Regions from separate parts of the Homo sapiens genome. Here all the other regions are linked to region 1. Evidence: promoter capture Hi-C in human tissues and cell types (Jung and others, 2019). All regions are on one chromosome and are shown on one strand. Each heading gives the region's core, a stretch centred on a gene start or on the middle of the fragment in contact. The rest is flanking DNA. Distances are from core to core; before and after follow the strand shown.

What was found. Contacts are between HindIII fragments. The study calls those that stand out against the background at their distance.
Region 2: a fragment that was not itself captured here is called in contact with the fragment with the promoter of BOK in region 1 in 2 of the 25 tissues and cell types used here (dorsolateral prefrontal cortex and lymphoblastoid cells).
Region 3: a contact is called between a fragment that was not itself captured here and the fragment with the promoter of BOK in region 1, in 1 of the 25 tissues and cell types used here (dorsolateral prefrontal cortex).
Region 4: a fragment that was not itself captured here is called in contact with the fragment with the promoter of BOK in region 1 in 2 of the 25 tissues and cell types used here (dorsolateral prefrontal cortex and hippocampus).
Region 5: a fragment that was not itself captured here is called in contact with the fragment with the promoter of BOK in region 1 in 3 of the 25 tissues and cell types used here (dorsolateral prefrontal cortex, hippocampus and lymphoblastoid cells).

What each region holds. Positions count from the first base shown.
Region 1 is chr2:241,556,727-241,561,406 of GRCh38, reverse strand. BOK (BCL2 family apoptosis regulator BOK) reads right to left here and starts at 2,662. Exons shown (of 5, transcript NM_032515.5): 1 at 2,414-2,662; 2 at 1,704-1,952. The coding sequence starts at 1,923. It overlaps BOK-AS1 (BOK antisense RNA 1), which reads left to right and starts at 2,264. Exons shown (of 2, transcript NR_033346.1): 1 at 2,264-2,630. RefSeq lists silencers at 1,640-1,769, 1,820-1,889, 1,920-1,999. The HindIII fragment of the contact is 1,356 bases long and covers 2,278-3,633 here.
Region 2 is chr2:241,306,504-241,311,183 of GRCh38, reverse strand. All of the region lies in intron 1 of HDLBP (high density lipoprotein binding protein), which reads left to right. Among named protein-coding and RNA genes, the nearest start is that of HDLBP, 6.8 kb to the left of the region's middle. RefSeq lists an enhancer at 1,279-1,780. The HindIII fragment of the contact is 9,441 bases long and covers 1-4,680 here.
Region 3 is chr2:241,322,293-241,326,972 of GRCh38, reverse strand. It overlaps SEPTIN2 (septin 2), which reads right to left. Exons shown (of 13, transcript NM_004404.5): 2 at 2,732-2,757; 3 at 860-980. The coding sequence starts at 2,740. Among named protein-coding and RNA genes, the nearest start is that of SEPTIN2, 8.7 kb to the right of the region's middle. The HindIII fragment of the contact is 3,359 bases long and covers 364-3,722 here.
Region 4 is chr2:241,340,456-241,345,135 of GRCh38, reverse strand. SEPTIN2 (septin 2) reads right to left here. Exons shown (of 13, transcript NM_004404.5): 8 at 2,043-2,144; 9 at 1,239-1,384. Among named protein-coding and RNA genes, the nearest start is that of FARP2, 13 kb to the left of the region's middle. The HindIII fragment of the contact is 6,582 bases long and covers 1-4,680 here.
Region 5 is chr2:241,423,248-241,427,927 of GRCh38, reverse strand. All of the region lies in intron 8 of FARP2 (FERM, ARH/RhoGEF and pleckstrin domain protein 2), which reads right to left. Among named protein-coding and RNA genes, the nearest start is that of MIR3133, 52 kb to the left of the region's middle. The HindIII fragment of the contact is 3,912 bases long and covers 477-4,388 here.

The DNA.
Region 1 (4,680 bases), core at 1,413-3,912:
TCCCACCTGGGCTCTTGCTGCCAAGGGGATGTGCTTGGAGGTGGCACTGCATCAGCCCTGCCCCTGGCAGCCGAGGATGGCCCCTACAGGCCCACCGCCCCAGTGCTGCCTGTGGCACCCTTGGCAGCAGCAGCGCACAGGCACGGGGCAGATGGTGCCGAGAATGCCACAGGGCCCTGGGATTGGGAGTCCGCAGCCCGGCCAGTTCTCCAGCCAAAGCAAACAGGGTAATGCTGCTGACCGGACCATCCCAGCTGATAAAGGCTGCTCTGTATCTCATTAATTAAGATCTGGAAGCAGAGCAGAGCCCATGAGAGGCTGGCTGGGGGCGGGGGACGACATGGAAATTCCCAGGACTGACCCGGCAGCTCCCAAACACAGATCTCCGGGGCTGCTGCAGGCTGGCCCCAGACTGAAGGTGGGGACACAACCCGGGCTTCTTCCTGTCTGCACTGCCCAAGGGCAGGGAGACAGCGCTGGCCTCAAGGGACTGACCCTGAGCAGCCGTGAGGGCAGATGCAGGTCTGAGCTGTGTCCCTCTGGGGTCCCCCTAGACATCTGGGACTTCTTCCCAGCCATTCCAGGGGTCTGGCATCATCTTTTCAGAAGGCCACTAAAAGGATCCCCTAGGGTCATTCTCAGAGCCCGACTAGAGGCAGCAGCAGGCGGCGGATCTCATGGAGCCCCACCAACCCCCTAGCTCCCACCCAGAGACCTCTCCCTCCTTCTGAACTTCTCAGATGGGACTCCACCTCCTCCTGGAGGCTCTGTGCTGGTCCCCATGGATTCTGTCTGCACCCCACACACACTCCTGGGCAGGCCAGGTCTACACAGCTTTGCTCTCTGGGCCCAGCCCACCACGTAAGGGCAGGGGCCACCTAGAGCCCATGCCAGCGCCAGCCTGAGAGGAGGCAGCGTGTCCCCTCACGGGGTCGTGCCCTCCGACTCCAACCCCCTGCCTGGAGAGCCACCGATTCAGTTTCACCTATGCTGTCACCTCCCCTTCCCGGGCTCAGCCACAGGCGCCCCATGTGCCCTCTTCGGGCATCACATAAACATTCCCAGGTGACGGCCACAGCCCAGCTGTGGTGAGGGGACTGGACAGTCACAGTGGGGCTGGTCCCTCCCTCTTGGGTCCAGACCTTGGAGACGGTGGGGGCAGCCAGTGGACCGTGTGTGACCCCAGAACCGAGCACCCCCAGATGTCCTCACAGCACCAACGAATACTGAGGTTTTGGCTACCCAGCCCGGTGGGCGCAGTTTCCAATGGGGGGGCCTCGGAGGCCTCGGAATCCAGAGGGCAGCGGGCGGGATCTCGGCCAGTAACAGCAAGAATCTGTTTTCCAAAATAAACATCGGGACACGTGCTCCTACAAAGGGTTTCTGTGCCCAGCTGAGAACAAGGGTCACTGTGGAAGCTTAGCCACCCACTAATAGATTATTCTTTCTGGAGCTTTCTATTGTTTATGGCCAGCATGACTGAAATCTGGGCTGAGCAGGCAGCTGATGGGGGGGCCTGTGGCGTGGGAGGCCTGAGAGGGCAGATCCGGGAGCACCCGCCTGGGTGGCCCTGTCCCGAGCGCCTGGCCGTCCCAGGCAGGGGGTGGGCGCCCCTGGGCCGGACCCCCATCTCGGCCTCGGAGGGAGGCTGCGGCCCAGCAGGGGAGGAGGCGCAGCTGGGGATCCCACCAGGGCGCACTCACCCAGGCGCAGCAGCACCGCGCACACCTCAGCCAGGCGTCCCGGGACCGGCGCGGCACGCTCGGGCGCGCTCCAGGAGAGGCCGGCGCGCAGCAGCCGCGCGTGCACGTACTCCCGGCCCAGCGCCTTGGCCTGGGCCACCAGCTCCTTGTCTGTGGGCGAGCGGTCAAAGGCGTCCATGATCTCGGCGGCGAAGACCGAGGAGCGCCGCAGCACCTCCATGGCGGCGACGCGGGTGGGGGGCGCCGCACCTGCGGGCACAAGCGCTCAGCCGGGTGGAGGGAGGCGGCGCGGGGAACGGGGCGCGCGGGGCGCCGGGCTGGGCGTGGCCCTCGGGAAGGGCCGTAGCCGGCGCCGGGTCCGCTCTCGTTTTTTGTGCCCCAAATCTTTAAAAACCCAGCGCCACCTTCTTTCAGAGCCCGAATTCAGCTACAGACATTCCCCGAGGCTGCCAGGGACCGGTGGGGCCGCGGGGAGACGGCGGTTTGCTCCGGGGCCGCCGGGCCCGCCCTCGAAGACGAGTGCGTGGGCGGCGGGGGCGGAGGGCACAGCCCAGCGCGTCCCCCACGGCGACTGCCAGGACCCGGCCCTCCCCGCCCCGGCCCGGGGCCGCCCACCTCCGCCGCTGGCGTCCTGCGCGCGTGTCCCCGGCCTCGCCGTTCCCGTGGCACCCCGGGCACCCCGGCACGGACGCCACGCCCGCCGCGCTCACCTCTCCCGCCGCATGGCGCGGGCGCCGGGGTGGAGTTCTGGCTTCAGGATCTGCTCGCCGCCGACGACGACCTCGACCCTTCCATTCAGACCCGCGAGGACGCGCGCCCCGCCCCGGCGCCCGCCCCGTCCACGCCCGAGCCGGGAGCGCCAGGTCCACGGGGCTTCCCGCGCTCTTGGGGGGCTCCTGCCGCGGCGTCGGGGGCCTGGGCAGCGAGGTGGGCAGCGCGCGACTCCCAGCTGGCGAGAGGCTGGGCTTGGGGCTTGGCCTTCTAAGGGAAAGGCAACCCTGGGGGCGGAGTCGGGGAGACGCTTTCCGAGCTTCCCCGCTTAAGGAGGACCGAGCGAGTTCCCTGGATGCGCCCGGAGAAGGCGACCAGGCCGGAGCGGCCCCCGCAAGGCAGAGCAGTGGGGACCTAGAGCCAGCCCCAGCCGCCTGGGTGTTCCCCGGGGTCCATTTGAAAATTGGGTTGTCTTCTTCGTTCGTAGAGGTTCTTTCCAGAGTCTGGAGACGTGTTCTTGGTCCGGACGCATGCCCTTTGTATTGTAGATGGATTATTGGATTCGCATTTATTGAAGTTATTGCAAATATCTTCCTCTATTTTGTGGTTTACTTTTGCTTTGGATGAACAGGAGTTACTCTTAGTGATGTCCAATTTATCAATATTTTCTTTATGGTTAGTACCTTTTTATTGGGATATCCTCCTGTATTTCCTTTTAGAAGCTTGTTTTAGGGCTCATATTTAGATCTATGATTGATTACATATTAATTATTGTGAATGGTGTGGTACGGGGCTAGAGCTCATTTTTTTTCGTGTAGATATCCAATTGACCTGGCATCATTTATTGAAAAGCATCATTTTTTTTCCACCGAATTGGAGGAGTCCCCAACATCTCAACATAAATCAGCTGAAGAGTGTGTGTGTGTGTGTGTGTGTGTCTCGGAACTCTATCCCACTGGTTTATTTCTTTATCCTTGAATCAACCTCACACAGTTTGAACAATAGGATTAACCAACTTGGCCTAATTCACGTGTGTACAACACTATAAAATACTTATTCTTCCCATGTGCACATAGGATGTTTATCGAAATAGACCATATCATGGACCTTATACAAGTCTCAGCAAATCTCAACGGATTGAAATCTTACAGTGTGTCCTCTCTGAATTAAAAGTCAATAACAGAAAAATTACTGGAAAATCTGCAAATGCTTGGAAATTACATGTCACACTTCTAAATAATCAATGGGTCAATAATCACAGTGGAAGATTAAAATATGTTGACAAGAACAGTGAAAAATAAGACATATCAAATGCTGTACAGTGCAACTAAAACACTGCTTAGAGGAAATTTGATAGCTTTAGAAGAAGGATTGAAAATTAGGCCAGGTGAAATGACTCAGACCTGTAATCCCAGCATTTTGGGAGGCCTAGGTGGGCAGATCACCTGAGCTCAGGAGTTTGAGACCAGCCGGGTCAAAATGGTGAAAACCCCGTCTCTACTAGAGATACAAAAAATGAGTTGGGTGTGGTGGCAGGTGTCTGTAATCCCAGCTACTAAGGAGGCTGAGGCAGGAGAATTGCTTGAACCTGGGAGGCGAAGGTTGCAGTGAGCAGAGATCATCCCACCTGCACTCCAGCCTGGACAACAGAGTGTGATTCCATCTCAAAAAAAAAAAAAAAAAAGGAAAAAGAAAAATAAAATTACTGCTCTAAGCTTCCACTCAAGAAGCTAGAAAAGAACAATAAAACTAAAGATGAAAGGAAATAATAAAAATAAGAGCAGAAATTAATGGAATAAAGCAAAAAATAGAGAAAATCAACAAAGCCAAAAATTGGTTCTTTGAAGAGATTAATAGAACTGATAAATCCCCAGAAAGATTGAGTAAGAAAAAAGATAACACAAATTTCACTATCAAGAATGAAAAAGAGGACATCACTGTAGATACTACAAGCATTAAAGGGATAAAAAGATAGTATGGAGGACTTTTTGACAGTGCATTTGAAATTTTAGATGATACACAACTTACCAAAACTGACACTAAAAGAAATAGAAAATCTGGATAGTCCTACACCAATTAAATGCATTGAATCTGTAATTTAAAATCTTCCCACAAAGAAAATTCTAGGTTCAGATGGTTTCATTGAGAAATTCTTCTCAACAGTTAAAAAAATACCACCAGTCTCATACAAACCTGCACAGAGACTAAAAATGAGGGAGTATTTCCCAACTCATTTTATGAGGTCAATGTAATTTTAATACCGAAA
Region 2 (4,680 bases), core at 1,156-3,655, 250 kb after region 1:
GTTTTCCTCCATGAAACCTGAAGGTTTTTGTTTCTTTTTTTTCTTCTTTCTTTCTTTTGTTTTTTTTTGAGACACAGCGTCTTGCTCTGTTGCTCAGGCTGTAGTGCGGTGGCGCTGTCATAGCTCACTGCAGCTGCAATCTCCTGGGCTTGAGTGATGCTCCTGCCTCGGCCTCCCAAGTACCTGGGACTACAGGCATGCACCGCCACACCTGGATAATTTTAAAAACTTTTTGTAGACATGAGCTCTCTATGTTGCCCAGGCTGATCTTGAACTCCTGGCCTCAAGTGATTCTCCTGCCTCAGACTCCCGAAGTGCTGGGAGTGAAGGCTTTGCATCTGGCCTCAGAGGCTTTTCTTTCTGTGAAATTCAGAACTCCCAGAACAGTGATGTCCCTTGGAGACTGTTTTCATCCATCGTCTTGCCTACTCTTTGGTCCTGTTTATTTGCAACTCATGTTCTTCAACGCTGGGCATTTTTTTGATTTATTGCTTTGATTTCTTCCTATTTGCTTTCTCTCTCTCTCTCTAGAATTCTACTCTTGGACTTTCTGGATTGGCACTCATAATTTTCTTAAGGTTTCTTTTTCCCCCCTCTAAAATTTTTGTTTTTGTTTTTATCTTTTAAATTGTAAATTGACAAATTATACTTGTACATATTTAGGGGGTACAAAGTGATGTTACGATTTATGGATACAATAAATAATAAAATCAAGTTAACATAATTCATCACTTCAAATACTTTAAGTTTTTTGTGGTGAAAGCATATGAGATTACTGTCAGCACTTTTGAAATCGACATTATTATTTACTATATTCACCGTGCTGTACAATATATCTCATAAAAGAAAACCACATTCCTCCTGTCTAATTGATGTTTTGTACCCTTTGGTTTTTCATTTTCTTTCTGGAAGTTATTCTCAAGTTTGTCTTCCAGCCCTTCTACCAAGGTTTTTCTCATTTCTAAGAGCTTTTTCTTGTTCCCTCTATTCCTATTTTATAACCTATTTTTTGTTTCATGAATGTGGTATCTCCTGTTAACTGTTGGAAGATATTGATGAGGTTTTATTTTTCCCTGTTTTCTTTTTCCTTAAGTCACTATTGAGGCTGCTCTGGTTTGTTGTGGGTTTTTGGCTTTTGTCAGCCTTTTCTGGGCTATGCAGTGATGTTCTTGTGCCTGCTCGTGAGTCAGAGGGCCTCTGAGCCTGTGTCTGTGGCTGACTGTGGCTTTCACTGCAGAGGCACCTGGCTGGGCCATTTCCTTACAGCACCCTTGTCAGCTTCTTTGGGTTTCTTCAGATTCCCCAGAGAAATATCTTGTAGCCCTTTGCCTGGCTGAGTGGCCAAGTGAGGAGAGAGGCCTGGGAGCACAGCAGTAACCATAAAAGAGCTTACTTCCCTCTTTTCAGAATTGTTTCCCTCCTCTGTAACTGGTGTCCCCAGTCCAAAGATTCTACTTCCCTTTGCAGACAGAAAAGCGATACCTTTTTGCCAGGATAGGAGAGGGACTGTGCAGGTTGGCTCTGTGTGGCTGTGCAGAGTTGTGGGGTGCATCTTAGGGATCTTCGTGCCTTTTAAACCTATCAGCCAACTCTGTTTTTAATTCAGGTCTCCTGGCTTCCAGTCATATTGCCAGTTGGCCTTCCCCATTGCCGATACAGGATTCAGCCCTTTTAGGTCTGTTTCCAGTTTCTAGCCTCCAGTATTTTAATGTTCTTATCTCTATTCTTATTCTTTGCTTTCGTGATTTGTATCTTAAAAAAAGAAAAAATCGTTTACTATCATTTTAGTGGTGCTTCACGAAGTAGTGTAAATGTATTGATCTGACAACGGCTCGTGCTGGAGACACTGTTCCAGGAAGTGGGACACAGTAAGGAAAATGCAAGTGTGTTCTCCTGCACTTTCACGGAGGTCACGTTTTGGTAAGCGGTGTCAGGCAGTCAGCAGACCAGCAGATATGCAGTATGTCCAATGTGGACAAGAAGAAAGGAGGAAAATAAAGTATCGAGGGGAGTGGAGTGGGGGACACAGTGGCAGTTTGGCATAGTGGGGAGGCCTTGCTGATTGAGCGACAGTTGATTCAAACTTGAGATGAGCAAACAAGCCATGGGCAGCGATCTGGGGAAGAGCGTTATAAGAGGAATGGACAGGAGGTGAAAAGCACGGGGGCAGGACTGTGTTGTGCACGTTAGAGGAATGTGGAACACCAGTTATTAGACCAGTGTGGAGCAGGACCAGAGGGTGTAGGAGACGGGCAGGTCAGGGAAGAAGCCGGGGCTCCTAGCAGTCGGATCTTGATGCCTTTGGAGAGCTGGAGCAGAGTGACCCAGTACTGGTGGTGGATCGTGGTGAAGTGACCATGGGCCACACCATTCACGACATTTCTTACTTTTCCTGTCACCTGTAGGAGGCAAGTATTGTTGTTATCACAGGTCGAGGTAGACCCTGAGGCAAAGGCTAGAGTTAGTGGTTTGGCTCCAGTTTGTGCCTTCAGCTACTTCACTGCTTCCCTAACCTGGCCTTGTCAGTCAGCCTCAGTCTACCATCTACCCAGGTCTGCATACCCCGCAAAACAGTATACACTTTGACGCTTTTCTGCAAGCACAATTACCTTTTGGGGGAGCCCTTCTCTTAAAGCAGAGTAGGTTAATGTTTGTGAATGAAACGGAACTTTGGCAGGCTGAGGTGTCTCAGGTCATCAGCTTACGTTGTCTACTGTGTGACTAATTGAGGCAAAAGATGTCCTTTTTAATAGTATTTTCTCATCACTTTTGCCTGGGTGCCCTTTAGGAATGTTATTTTTGGCATACAACTTGAGTTTCACTTAAATTTATAATTCTTTCTGTTCATTCCTACTGCTCTGTTGCCCAGATGTGGATTTTGCTTTGTCTCACAAGCGTTGCTGAAACACTGGTAGAAAGGTGGACGACGGATTGGTTGTGATTAGTTTGATCTTCACAGTACAGAAATTCAAAAGGTCAATAAGCTCAACAAGATTGCTGTCTCACTGATGATCAGAGTTGCCATTAAAATCGTATTTCCCGCACATCAGGCTGGAAAAAAGAATAAACATGATCATTTTAGTTGTCCTCAAAGGAGAAGAGGACAGGTATTCTGTAATCAGGTGTTGTGAGTGTAACTAGTTAAACTCTTTGGGAGGTGGGCAGTTTTACCTTGGCAATATCTATCAATGCATTGCCTGTCATCATATAATTCCATTTCCAATTCAATTTATCCTGTGGGGGTAGAGGCCCAAGTGAGCAGAGGATGTTCTTTCCAGCATTGTTTATAATCGCAAAAAAAAAAAAAAATTAGTTCAAGGGTCCTATCAGTAGGGGATTTATTAAGGTATGTTTACTCCACTCAACATGTAGTTGTTAACAAATGAGGTAAATTTGTATTTGGTACTCGGAAAGATGGCCATGGTGTCTTTTCAAATGAAAATAAGTGTAGCAGATGGTGAAAGAATGCATGTAAGATCCTATTTTTATTTAAATCATGTATTAAAATTATAATTAAAGTATAATTAAAATTACAGTTTTGAAGATACAGTTTAGAATATATTTTTTGGTAAAGCCTCATGGGGGGGTTGCCAGTTTTTACATTGTTTTGTTGAGTTATCTTTTAGAATATTTTTAAAGCTAAAAAATCAAGTTCCTTGGTAGACCATCACTACAGCAAGCCCACTGCAGTATTAATCTATTAATACTGTCAATGTTAATTAAACCATTATTCGTGTAGCCCCTACCCATCCCATTCCAGTCTCTCAGGAGGCTTAGCTGTATCCCAGAGACCCCAGTGCTATGACCGCAGGTCTCTCCTGGGGCAGGAAGAGGTAAGAAGTGGCTGATGTCAAAGTCAACAGTCAGCAAGTGGCGTGAGCAGTCTCGATGAATTCTTTCAAATAAGCGTTTTTCAGATCCACTCTAGGGCTTGCCTTTTCCCTCTGTTGTAGTCTCAGAAGTTCTTGAGGTAGACCTTGTGAGACCTGCAGCAGTACTTGCTGTCTTAGGTACAGAAGGCAGGATATTGATTATTTCTCCCTGACTCAACAAAGAGTTGAGATGTTTATCCAGGTTAGGATGACACTGCCCCCCTGTCCCCCCCGCCCCCCAAAAAAGAAACAAAAATGAAAGGATGGTGTCTTTGACTGTACTGGGAGTCAGGAGACCTCACTTCAATTTTGGGCTTTTCCTCGTTTTTTTTTTTTTTTTGAATAGGTTCAGAGCTACTCCCTGGACCTGTTCTTATCAGCCTTATGACTTGGGGACTTGGGATACTTTTTTTTTTTTTTTTAATTTATTGAGACAGAGTCTCTCCCTGTCACCCAGGCTGGAGTATGACAGCATGATCTCCGCTCACTGCAACTTCCGCCTCCCGGGTTCAAGCAATTCTCCTGCCTCAGCCTCCTGAGTAGCTGGGACTACAGGCATGCACAATAGTAGAGATAGGGTTTTGCCGTGTTGGCCAGGCTGGTCTCGAATTCCTGACCTCAAATGATCTGCCAGCCTCGGCCTCCCAATGAAGTGCTGTGATAATAGGCATGAGCCACTGCTCCCAGCCTGACTTGGGGTACTTTTTGACCTGTAGGATTTCAGCTCCTTTCTTTTAAAAATAAGAAAGCTGAGGCCAGGCGCAGTGGCTCACGCCTGTAGTCCCAGCACTTTGGGAGGCTGAGGCGG
Region 3 (4,680 bases), core at 794-3,293, 230 kb after region 1:
GGACTCAGGTGAGAGGAACTACAGGTACATGCCACCATGCCTGGCTAGTTTTCATATTTTCTGTAGAGACAGGGTTTCACCATGTTGCCCAGCCTGATCTTCAACTCCTGCCTGCCTCGGCCTCCCAAAGTGCTAAGATTACAGGTGTGAGCCGCCATGCCTGGCCTGGAGGATATTTCTGAAACGGGTCACTTACACAGCCATTGGCAGGCCTTGGTTCCTTACTTGGTGGGCTTCCCTGTAAGGCTGCTTGAGTGTTCTCTTGACATGACAGCTGGCTTCCTCCAGAGTGAGTAATTTGAGAAGAGGCAAGGTGGGGGGCCATAATGCCTTTTATGACCTAGTCTTAGAAAATGACAACACTTTCATCTCCACAATGTCCTACTGGCTACACAGGTAAAACCCTATTCAATGCAGGAAGGGCTGGCTTCCTCCAGAGTGAGTAATTTGAGAAGAGGCAAGGTGGGGGGCCATAATGCCTTTTATGACCTAGTCTTAGAAAATGACAACACTTTCATCTCCACAATGTCCTACTGGCTACACAGGTAAAACCCTATTCAATGCAGGAAGGGACAAGAAAGTTGTGAATACCAGGAGATAAGAATCACTGGGGGCCATTTTGGAGCCTAGCTGACACAATGAGTAAACTTTCACTACATATAAATAAGAAAGTGACAGAAAAATAATTTTGCTCCTGAGAAAAATTTTCTAATGAATACACATATATTTGTTCAAATTCTCAAGTTATTTGACTCTGCCAAATTTTCCTCTTTCTTTATAGGTCACGTTATCATACTCCAGAGATTGGAAAGGGGAGATATTTATTTAGTAAGTTGGAGACTATAGATTAATTTCTTACCGACCACCATCAGTGTGAACTCAAAACCTTTTTTCACTGATTTTCGGTGAACTTGATTGGGGAGGTTTGCAAATCCAACATAGCCAGGTGTTTCTGGATTTATAAACTGAGTTGGCTGTTGCTAAATAAGATTAAAAAACAAACAAACTAATAAACACCTTAGTAGTTGCTTTTAAGATATAATCAGTTAGACATGAAACAAACATAGGTTATCAGTTTTCACAAATTTTTTAAAAAGTATAAACACTTCCAGAAGGTCATACTTCTATCAGAAAACCAGTAGTATTCAACTAGGAGCATTAAAAAAAGAAAAACTTATCTAGTATAACTCCTTAGTTGTATGCGACTGAAAATTAACATTTTGTTAATCAGTATTCTGTTTAGGAATTTAACAATACATAGAAGATACATGCTTAATACATCTTAATGCAATTTCAAATTTCGACTTGAGAGACTATGGAGTTCCAGGAAAATCAGTCAAGCTTACAAAGTACTGCTACAGCTGACAGTACTTTGAATGAATGGTTTCATTCAACAAACTTGGCTAAAGAATAGCTTCTCCCAGGTATTAGGTGCAATGCATTTCTGAAAAGTATCGAGGAAAAAAGCATCTCTCTTGCTGTGCTTCTAGCTCTATAGAACAGAGTTTCATCAAGGGTGAGGCAGGCAAATTAGGGGTGGGATGTTGAGTATCTAGTGTCAAAGACCAAGAAAGAAAAGACAGAATGAGAAGATCATAGATGACTACACTGAAGCATCAATATTCCTTGACAGAAGGGTATCTGATGAGAGAGAGGACAGAGATATGAGAAGGCAAGAATAGCAGAAGTAACCAGAATCTAGACAGTGGCATACTGAAAATGAGAAGAAATTTTAAAAATCAATTTATTAATTGAAAAAGGCAAGATACAAAATAGTATTTCCTTTAGGATTACATTTTGTAAATGTATAGTCAAATGCACACACAGGTGAAAAAGAATATATGTAACATATTAACAGTGGTTATTCCTGAGTGGTGAAATAATGACTTTTTTTTTTGCTTATCTGTGTTCCATGCTAACACTGGTATAAAATGCAAAAACTGGTATGATGATTTTGCATTGGACAGTAATGAACACCCACAGGATTCAAAGATAAAAAAAAAACAGAAATAATAATCTTGCAATGTTAACCACAAGTTCTGCTTTTCTCAGAATATGTTCTTTAGCACTAATTTATCTCTGAACTAACTTGCAAAGGCTGATTTAAACCAATTTATCAAGTCTAAGAGCCCCATCAATTTCATCATAATAAATTATCAGAATTCTAAATTATCTGGTCTGCTGGGAATGAACTAAGGGGGCCAAAAGGACTGTTACTGATGTGTGTAGAGAAAAGAAAGTAGAAGCCTGAAAAAAGAGAAAGCTCCAAGCTTTTAAGATGACAATTAGGCCAGGCACGGTGGCTCACACCTGTAATCCCAACACTTCGGGGGGCCAAAGCGGGTGGATCACGAGGTCAACAGATCAAGGCCATCCTGGCCAACACGGTGAAACCCCGAATTTACTAAAATCCAAAAAATTAGCCAGCGTGGTGGCACGTGTCTGCAGTCCCAGCTACTCCGGAGGCTGAGCCAGGGGAATCGCTTGAACGTGGGAGGCAGAAGTTGCAGTGAGCTGAGATCATGCCACTGCACTCCAGCCTGGTGACAGAACAAGACTCCCGTCTCAAAAAAAAAAAAAAAAAGACAACTAAATTAGAACTCTTTGTGTTAATGAATCAAATGTATCAGTTGTATTAAAAATAATGAATCATATAAGTCCCGACTGTCAACAGTCTGAAAACATAAAGCAATTTCTCCTTATGCTGTAGATACATGAAGTATGATCTTACCTTAGACATCTTTTGTGAAGCTTCGTCTGTTAAAAAAAAAACACACAGACACACATAAACGCACATACATAGTATGTATGTATACGCACGTATATTTAACAGCGTGAACTGACCTGAAGAAGACTTACACATACATAGGCAATGTAAAAAGAAAATACAATTTCAGGACCTTCCAAATGCATTAGGCCAAAGGGAAAAGTTAAGCACTGACAGCTGGCTCGTGTAACATCACTACTTTTATTCTTTCTGACTTTTGTGTTTAGATGTATATATTAACCAGACCCCCTATTCTTTATTCAAAACTAGACTAAATGACTGGGAGATGAGAGATCCTTATGACTGTTACTTCTTTACAAAAGGAAGTTAAACAAATCCCTTCAAGTGTAATCAATAGTAGCCAATCAAATTTGTATCTTTAAATGAGCCTTAGTTCCGAAAATGTTATAATTCTGTTTGGCACCTCCATTTTGCCTATATAAACAATCCTCATTTTTCCCCACCCTGGGAGCGCTAATCACCATTCTTTGGTGTAGCTCGCTTACACTCTGTACTTAAATGAATTCTTTTAACTGAATCAGGAGCCTTTTGATTATTTTAGGTGACAGCATCTCAATTACTTCAAATATTTCCCTAGGAATAAGACAAGCATCTATCATTACAAAAATAAATTCGATTAAAAAAATTAGGCCAGACGTGATGCTCACGCCTGTAATTCCAGCACTTTGGGAGGCCGAGGTAGGCAGACCACTTGAGGTCAGGAGTTCAAGACCAGCCTGGCCAACATGGTGAAACCCCATCTCTACTAAAAATACTGATTCAGCCAGGCATGGTGGCGCTTGAGGTCAGGAGTTCAAGACCAGCCTGGCCAACATGGTGAAACCCCGTCTCTACTAAAAATACTGATTCAGCCAGGCGTGGTGGTGCGTGCCTGTGATCCCAGCTACTCAGAAGGCTGAGACAGGAGAATCGCTTGAACCTGGGAGGCGGAGGTTGCAGTGAGCCGAGATCATGCCACTGCACTCCAACCTGGGCAACAGAGTGAGACTCCATTAAAAAAAAAAAAAAAATTAGATGGTGGCTGGGTGCAGTGGCTGACGCCTGTAATCCCAGCAGTTTGGGAAGCAGAGGCAGGACTGCTTGAAGCCAAAAATTCAACACCAATCTGGGCAACATAGCAAAACCCTATCTCTACAAAAAATTAAAAAATTAAAAAAATTTTTAAGTTGATAAAAGCAACTGTATATATATATGTACGCACATATTCCATATTTTCAATAATATTCAAATTTTTTTTCAGTACTGACTATATGTTAGACACTAGGGACACAAATGGGATACACACGGATACATACTTCCCTGACCTCTGGAATTATGTCATTTCCCCTCTCTCTTTGAAACCTTTCAAGGAGTAAGGGACTTCATTACATAGAGCACTGTAACTTGAACATGTTTGCCACCCACTGGAGTTTCCTAGAGCTACCTGAGAACTAGATTTTGACACTGGGGTACAGAGAGCAATGTGAACTACATTTATGAGGAAAGGAAATAGTACTGAAGGCATCTGAGTGTCTGAAAAATGTGACAATATTTTTAAAGATATGTGGAATTTTTTTTTCTCTTTTCTTTTTTTTTTTTTGAGACGGAGTCTCGCATTGTCTCCCGGGCTGAAGTACAGTGGGTGATCTCAGCTCACTGCAACCTCCACCTCCTGGGTTCACGCCCTTCTCCTGCCTCAGCCTCCCGAGTAGCTGGGACTACAGGCGCCCGCCACCATGCCCGGCTAATTTTTTTTTAATTTTTAGTAGAGATGGGGTTTCACTGTGTTAGCCAGGATGGTCTCGATCTCCTGACCTCATGACCCGCCCGCCTCAGCCTCCCAAGGTGCTGGGATTACAGGTGTGAGCCACTGTGCCCAGCCAGAGATATGTGGAATTTTTAAACAAATTTTA
Region 4 (4,680 bases), core at 1,595-4,094, 220 kb after region 1:
GTTCTTTTTGGTTTTTTTTTTTGAGATGAAGTCTTGCTCTTGTTGCCCAGGCTGGAGTGCAGTGGCGCAATCCCGGCTCACTGCAACCTCCACCTCCAGGTTCAGGCGATTCTCCTGCCTCAGCCTCCCAAGTAGCTGAGAATACCGGCACCCACCACCACACTCGGCTAATTTTTTTGTATTTTTAGTAGAGACAGGGTTTCACCATGTTGGCCAGGCTGGTTTCACCATGTCGGCCAGGCTGGTTTCACCATGTCAGCCAGGCTGGTTTCAAACTCCTGACCTCAAGTGATCCGCCCGCCTGGGCCTCCCAAAATGCCAGGAGTACAGGCATGAGCCACCGCACCCGGCCTCAGCCTCTTTTTTCAAGAGTAAAAGCAATGTATGCATGTTACAATATGTGAAATTTATTTATTTAATTTATTATTTTTTTGAGACAGAGTCTCGCTCTGTCGCCCAGGCTGGAGTGCAGTGGTGCAATCTTGGCTCACTGCAACCTCTGCCTCCTGGTTCAACAGTGATTCTCCTGCCTCAGCCTCCTGAGTAGCTGGGATTACAGGTGCGCACCACCACGCTTGGCTAATTTATTTTTTGCACTTTAAGTACAGATGGGGTTTCACCATGTTGGTCAGGCTGGTCTTGAACTCCTGACCTCGTGATCTGCCTGCCTCAGCCTCCCAAAGTGCTGGGATTACAGGTGTGAGCCACCACGCCCAGCCATGAAATTCATTTTTAAAGAAGACTATTTTTGTAGTCAGGTCTGTAATTGCTATTAATAATAAATGGAAGACACAAAAAGCTAACCAGGGCCATACAATGAGTCTCAGACTGGTGAGCAGGGCACCAGGGGTGGCTCAGCCTGGAGCAGTGGACCAGGGGCCTATACAGCCTGACTGTTTCCTTACCAGCACTGGGGACCTCTCAGACCCCAGTTTAGGTTCTAGTCTCCTTTTCTCCTTTTAACATCAAAGATGTAAGATCTTAGCAAGAAGGAAAGGTACTGCAGGCTACAGGCCACAGGCAGAAGCGCTAGTTTAGTAGTGCCACAGAGGGCCCCTGGGTGAGGGTTCTCAGCACCAATCTGCAACAGCCCCACACCACTTCTGCGATGTGAGAAACACTGAGGGCGGCAATGAAGCTGCTGGCTGCAACTATCTTGGGGGCCAAGTGTACACCCCGTCTGAAATCCATATTCTTCACGCCAAATTCTGCCAGAAGGAACACACCAAATGTCTTACATGAGCATGGTTCTCAGCTTCAGAAAGTCATTGTGCTCTGGGTTCTCCACTTCCACAACACCCCAGGGGTAGAGGCGGCCTCTGACCTTCTTTCCTTTGGCTTCAATCAACTGATTGGATCCAACCACAGAGAATGGGATGCTAGCCTAGAAAGAGACACACAGAGTAGACAGGCTCCACACAGGGAACCCCAGAGTTCACTGGCAACACGAGAACATTAGCACAGACTTAACACATTGCTGTTGACTACAAAACTGAATTGGAAAGCTGGGGGTATGTAACATTTTCTTGAAAAGTGTCAGATACTTTCTACATGGGACAAATTGTACGAAAACAAATTAAACCTACAATAAAATTTCTAAGCTTTAGGTGATAGCTGTATCAAATTTTTTTTTTTTTTGAGACAGAGTCTTGCTCTGTCGCCAGGCTAGAGTGCAGAGGCGCGATCTCGGCTCACTGCAACCTCTGCCTCCTGGGTTCAAGTGATTCTCCTGCCTTAGCCTCCCGAGTGGCTGGGACTACAGGTGTGCACCACCACATCCACCTAATTTTTGTATTTTTGATGGAGATGAGATTTCACCATGTTGGCCAGGATGGTCTGGAACTCCTGGCCTCAACTGATCCATCTGCCTTGGCCTCTCAAAGTGCTGGGATTATAGGCATGAGCCACTGCATGAGGTCTTAAAATATATTGAAAGCAAAAATACTCTCGTAACTGAACATACCCAGGCAATCTCTCTCACCTCAACATGGACAACAGTAAACAGGAGTTATTTATGTTGTGGATCTGAAGCCAGTTCTTACCTTGAGAAGTCTAGTCTGCTCTTTAAAATCTTCATCTTCATCTGATTCTGCATCAGGTAAGTGATAGATTTTGATGTTATGTTCTTCAATTTCATCCAGAATCTGAGAGAATGACAAAACCAGGATCAATTTTAGCAAACTGCGTATGTTATTGTAGCCAATTCTAGCTCATCTTGTAAGAAATATATTGGAAATCATACAAATGTCAATAATCAAACTGATGACGAAAGTTACTGTCAAATAAATTTATAAAACTGCGGCCGGGTGTGGTGGCTCACGTCTGTAATCCCAGCACTTTGGGACGCCGAGGCAGGTGGATCACAAGGTCAGGAGATGGAGACCATCCTGGCTAACATGGTGAAACCCTGTCTCTACTAAAAATACAAAAAAATTAGCTAAGCGTGGCAGTGGACGCCTGTAGTCCCAGCTGCTGGGGAGGCTGAGGCAGGAGAATGGCGTGAACCCGGGAGGCGGAGCTTGCAGTGAGCTGAGACCACTGCACTTCAGCCTGGGTGACGGAGCAAGACTCCGTCTCAAAAAAAAAAAAAAAAAAAAAAAATTTACAAAACTGCTAGAAAGGTATTTATACTTGAATTTTGAGGATCCTCTGTACAGAATAAAAATAACATTAGCAATAATGCACCACTACCCTCAATGTACAAAGCAGCAGGAAGACTAACGATAGCCCCAGCACAACAGCTAAAATGGAAATCACACCACAATCAGCCTCAAGAAGGGTAATTGCCACAGAGAAGCTACAGGCATGAGAAGACCCTGGAGAACAGGCAGGAGTCTTAAAAGCAGAGAGAAGGGAGAAGTACCCCAGATGGAAAAAAAGGAAGAAAGAAAGAAAAAAAAACAAAACCTCGTCAAAGGCACAGAGAGGACACATGGGGTGCATTTTGAGAATAAGAAATTCAAAAGGTTGGAATCTAAGACATCCAGTTGGATAAGGAAACAAAAATTGGAATTACAAAGTGGAGAGTTCCATCAACACCAGGCTAGCGACCTGGGGATCTGTATTTCATTCAACAGGCAGCCAGCAGTCAGCAGTGAAATCCCACAATCGGACCTATCAAGCAGGCAGTAGTGTGGGGGATGGGGCTTGAGGGGAGAAAGAACTGGGCTGAAGTTGAAATACGAATGCATTCATCAGTCAATCAATTAAAACCCTAGCACTCAAATGCTCATTGCATGGTGGGCATTCTCACAGGCACCAGGCAGGCCACAGTTTTGTTTGGTCTCACCTCAGTACCTGAGCCATTCAGGGAAGAGAGAACAAGAGCAACGTGAGCAGAAAATATCCCGACCTCAAACTGTGCACTGGATTTGCTTTCTGGTTTTTAAGAATGGAAAGCCTTAATGTGACCTAAAAAGGGCCTTGAATGGTCAGAGATTTGGTCTTAGTACAATGTCTGCACTAATTCAGAACTCCAGAAAAGGCCCTCCTCTCTACATCCTTTACTCTGTAACTCGACCTTCAGTCTTTTCATAAATCCTTATTCCTAAATGGGAGGAACCATCTTATCTCTGGGAGAAACTGAGCAATAAGAAGCATGAACTTGCTCACCTGTCCTCATCTTACGGCCCCTTTCCTGGTCTACTATCCATCCATGCTAACCTCATCTTTTGTCCTATGCTGGCCTCATAAAGATGGAGCTTACACTTTGGAGGAGAGAAGAGTTCGGAAACAGTTAGTAAGCTATTTAAAAGTGAGCAGAGGAGTCAGAAGTGATGAGTAAAAAATAATTTACACATTTCTCAGTCTGGATGATTTCAAGAATTGTGGGACCATTTAAAGAGACAGGGGAGCTGGAAGGACAGGAGTCCATCAGTGGTCAAAAGAGGACTCCTGTGGGTAAATGTGGTTCACAACAAGAAATAAGATACCTGGAAGGGCAAATCAGAAGCCACAGAAATAATGTGATCAAAATAATACTAAGGAATACTGACCTTCAGGGATCAGGAAGGAAGGTGGTAAAAAACAGCAGATAGAAAAGCAAACACAGTGGTTCAGCAGCCAAGGAAGGGAAGTTTCAGAAGTAGAATTGCCAATCACACAAACCCCACAGGTGGGGCCCACATCTGAGAACTGAACTGTTGGCCAAGCCCATGAGAGAGCAATTGCAGGTGGATGACAGGAAGCCTGAGTGAACAGGATCATGGGGAGGGCAGATAACAGCTACCAGTAAGTGTCTGACTAGAAGAAAGGCTGGTGAAGGCAAGAAGCTAGTAGAGGCTGGCAGGAGGCAAGAGGTTCTTGTAGATAGGGCAGAATGAACAAACTGGTAGGCATCAAGGAGAAACTGGAGGAAGAGAAGTGATTAATGAGGCCCAAGAAGGAAGGGATAAAAGCTCGAAGTATTTCGATTCATCTCAGATGTTGTAATCCAGCACTAAATGTTTCGCATACAGGATTAGAGATTAGAATTACAGCATTCTAACCCTGACACCACCCCCATTTCTACCTCAAAGAAATTTAATATAGCAGAGTACAAAAGGTGAAGTTCCCTTAAGTAGGAATTACTAAAGTATTTATTAGCATAAAAACGTCTACGCTTCCAGGGGTTCTTCAAAGGTTCAAATACTTTCTAAAAAACTGGCAGGCACTTGAGACAATTTAGGAAAAGGCTGCCAA
Region 5 (4,680 bases), core at 1,183-3,682, 130 kb after region 1:
AGACGTGGTGGCAGGCGCCTCTAAGTCCCAGCTACTCGGGAGGCTGAGGCAGGAGAATCGCTTGAAGCTGGGAGGCGGAGGTTGCAGTGAGCTGAGATCGCGCCACTGTACTCCCACCTGGGCGACAGAGTGAGACTCCATCTCAAAAACAAAACAAAAAACCGAGGGCCTGCCACGGAGGTAAGAGATGAAGCCCTCCCAAGAAGTGGGCCAACAATAGCTCAGAGGCCCCCAAATAACTGCTCCAGCTGCTTGTTCAATCCCTTCTGGTCAAAATAAGAAATTTCTACAGCTGTCTCTTGGTATCTGTAGGGGATTGGTTCCAGGACCCTCTACCCCAGTACCCCAATCTATAAATCTTGAGGCTCTGATAGAAAATGGTGTAGTATTTGCATATAACCTACACACACCATCTCTACAAAAAAACCTACAATTTTTGTAGAGATGAGGTCTTGCTTTGCTGCTAAGGCTGGTCTCCCGAGCTCTGGTGATTCTCTTGCCTTGACCTTCCAAAGTGCTGGGATTACAGGCTTGAGCTACCACGCTGGGCTTCCTGTATACTTTAATAAAATCATTTCTAGATTACTTATGTACCTAATACAATGTAAACGTCACATAGTTTTACTGTACTGTGTTAAATTTGTATTTTTTAAAAAATTACACAGACACATATATGTGTGTGTGTGTGTTTTGAGACAGAGTTTCGCTCTTGTTGCCCAGGCTGGAGTGCAATGGTGCGATCTTGGCTCACTGTAACCTCGGCCTCCTGGATTCAAGCGATTCTCCTACCTCAGCCTCCTGAGTAGCTGGCATTACAGGCACCTGCCACCACACCTGGCTAATTTTTGTATTTTTAGTAGAGATGGGGTTTCACCATGTTGGCCAGGCTGGTCTCGAACTTGTGACCTCAGGTGATCTACCAGCCTTGGCCTCCCAAAGTTCTGGGATTACAGGTGTGAGCCACCGCGCCCAGCCTGTATTGTTTTTTATCGTTTATTTTCCTGCGGATATGGAGGGCCAACTGTATATCCCAGGGTCTTGACCACCATGATAAAAGGAGAAATAAATAGAAAATCCAAGGACAATCACAGCTTTCATCTACTGCACCCTGACTTGACAGACTTTAAGACAACACTTTTAAACCTGCACAGTTAGCTGTGGAATGCTAAAATCTACTGTTTTCATTTTCATATTCATCCAATAATCCAGGGCATATCTGAAAATGCCATATAGACTACACGACTGGAAACAAACTGCCAGGTCAGGGTCACCCACTCCACATCAAGTCCTCTTCCTCAGACAGAACCAGCTTCACCTCTCTTGGCTGCCTTTCTGGGATTTACTCTCATGCATCCATTCATTCACCCGTATTTCTGAAAAGCACATTTATGACAGCTAGCACATTCTCCACTTTGAAATCTTGCCTCCTCAACATCTGTCACTGCCAATACCTCACACCTACCCCTCCCCACACTCTCCTAATTGTTGGTAAATTTTAAATTCAGTATTTATATTAATGGTCATGTAAGCATTGCTCACAAGCTGAGCTATAGTGAATTTAACTACTTTTTTTATATTATAAAGTAAAGCTTCCTTCTTCAAAATTTCCTTGAGAATCCTAATTGCCTCGTTTCATTTGCTTCACCGGCATGTACCTATCCCTAGTTAACACTCTTCCACACCGTCCAGCAAAAGAAATGAGTCCCTGGTCTACCCTCTCTCCCGGGGCCCTGCCCTCTGCTCTGGTATTGGTGGATGCTCTCTTGGCAGGCAGAACCTGTGTCTTCCTCTGCCTGTCTCGGATGTGGAGCACCCTATTTCCTTCTTTCTCACTTTTAGTTCATTCTCTCCTCTAGTTTTTCCTTACAAAGGGAGAGTAGTAGTTAAATTTTTTAAAAATCTACATGTGTGAAAAAAGGTTTTCTCTGTACAGAAGTCATGTGGAACAGAGCACAGAATTCTAGTCTAGAGCCCCACACACACCAAATTTAAAAAAAAAATCGCCAAATGCTCGGGGAAACTGATTTGAGTAATAATAAAACTGTAGTCTCAAAAAAAAAAAAACAAAAGAATTAGTTTGGAAATAATTTCCTTTTAATGTTTGAGATGCTGCCATTGCAGTGACATTGCACTCCAGCCTGGGCAACAAGAATGAAACTCTGTCTCAAAAAAAAAAAAAAAAAAAAGAGAGAGAGAGAAATTGTACCAGCTCTTCTTTGTACCTCTGGTTGAATTCAGCTGTGAATCCATCTGGTCCTGGGCTACTTTTTTTTTTTTTTTTTTTTTTTTTTTTACTTGGTAGGATATTATTGCCTCAATTTCACAACACATTTCTAGTCTATTCAGGGATTCAATTTCCCCCTGGCTCGGAAAGCCCCGTTGCTTTCTAGCTTCCAGTACTGCTACGGAATAGTTCCAGGCCATTTTAAATCACACTTCTTTCTCTCTTCTTCCTGGGAGTTCTTGGGTCTTCTCCACTATTATCCTTTGTTGGATGGATAGACTGCAAAATTTTTCTCCCATTCTGTAGGGTTGTCTGTTCACTCTGATGATAGTTTCTTTTGCTGTGCATAAGCTTTTCAGTTTAATTAAATCTCATTTATCAATTTTTGCTTTTGTTGCAATTGCTTTTGGCATTTTCGTCATGAAATCCTTCCTGTGCCTGTGTCCTGAATGGCATTGCCTAGATTTTCTTCCAGGGTTTTTTTTGTTTTTGTTTTTGAGACAGGGTCGCACTTCATCGCCCAGACTGGAGTATAGTGGCTTGATTTTGGCTCACTGCAACCTCCGCCTCCCAGGCTCAAGCGGTTCTCCTTCCTCAGTCTCTCAAGTAGCTGGGGTTATAGGCACCCACTATCATGCCTGGCTAATTATTATATTAGTAGAGACAGGGTTTTACCATGTTGGCCCCAGGCTGGTCTTGAACTCCTGACATCAAGTGATCTGCCCCCATTGGCCTCCGAAAGTGCTGGGATTCAGACGTGAGCCACTGTGTCTAGCCCTCATCTAGGGTTTTTATAAGTTTCTTTCTGGTTCAGTCTTGGGAGAGCGTATGTGTCCAGGAATTTATCAGTTTCTTTTAGATTTTCCACTTTATGTGCATAGAGGTGTTTATAGCATTCTCTGATGATCGTTTATATTTCCGTGGGTTCAGTGGTGATATTCCCCTATCATTTCAGATTGTTCATTTGATTATTCTCTATTATCTTCTTTACTAGTCTAGCTAGCAGTCTATTTTATTAATTTTTTCAAAAAACCAGCTCCTGGATTTGATTTTTTGAAGGGGTTTTTGTGTCTCTATCTCTTCAGTTCAGCTCTGATCTTGGCTATTTCTTGTCTTCTGCTAGCTTTGAGGTTTGTTTGCTCTTGATTTTTTAGTTCTTTTAGTTGAGATGTTAGGTTGTTAACCTGAGATCTTTCTAGCTTTTTGATGTGGGCATTTAGTACTATAAATTTCCCTCTTAACAATGCTTTAGCTGCATCCCAGATTCTGATATGTTATCTCTTAGTTCTCATTAGTTTCAAATAATTCTTGATTTCTACCTTAATTTCATTATTTACCCAAGAGTCATTCAGGAGCAGGTTGTTCAATTTCCATATAGTTGTGTGGTTTTCAGTGAATGTTTAAATCTTGAGTTCTAATTTGATTGTGCTGTGGTGTAAGAGACTGTTTGTTATGATTTCAGTTCTTATGCATTTGCTGAGGAGTGTTTTGCTTCCGATTATGTGATCAGTTTTAGACAAAGTGCCATGTGGTGATGAGAAGAATTTATATTCTTTTGTTTTTGGGGGGACAGTTCTGTAGCTATCTATAAGGTCACTTTATCCAGGGCTGAGTTCAGGTCCTGAATATTTTCAGAAAGTTAACTTTCTGTCTTGATGATCTGTCTAATATTGTCAGTGGGGTGTTAAAGTCTCCTATTATTATTGTGTGGGAGTCTAAGTCGTTTTTTAGATCTTTAAGAACTTGCTTTATGAATCTGGGGGCTCCTGTATTGGGTGCATATATATTTAGGATAATTAGCTCTTCTTGTTGAACCCTTTACCATTATATAATGCCCATCTTTGTCTTTTTTAATCTTTGTTGCTTTAAAGTCTGTTCTGTCAGAAACTAGGATTGCAAGCCTTGTTTTTTTCTGTTTTCCATTTGCTTGGTAAATTTTATTCCATCCCTTCATTTTGAGTCTATGTGTGTCTTTGCACGTGAGACAGGTCTCTTGAAGACAGCATACCCATAGGTCTTGGCTCTTTATCCAGCTTGCCATTCTGTGTCTTTTAATTGGGGGCATTTAGCCCATTTACATTTAAGGTTAATATTGTTATATGTGAATTTCATCCTGTCATCATGGTCCTAGCTGGTTATTTTGCAGACTTGTTTTTGTGGTTGCTTTATAGTGTCACTGGTCTATGTATTTCAGTGTGTTTTTGCAGTGGCTGTTAACAGTTTTTCCTTTCTGTATTTAGTGCTTCCTTCAGGAGCTCTTGCAAAGCAGGCCTGGTGGTGATGAATTCCCTAAGCACTTGCTTGTCTGAAAAGAATCTTATTTCTGTTTTGCTTATGAAGTTTAGTTTGGCCAGATATGAAATTCTGGGTTGGAAATTTTTTCCTAAGAATGTTGAATATTGGCCCCCAATCTCTTCTGGCTTGTAGGGTTTCTGCTGAGAGGTCCCCTGTTAGTC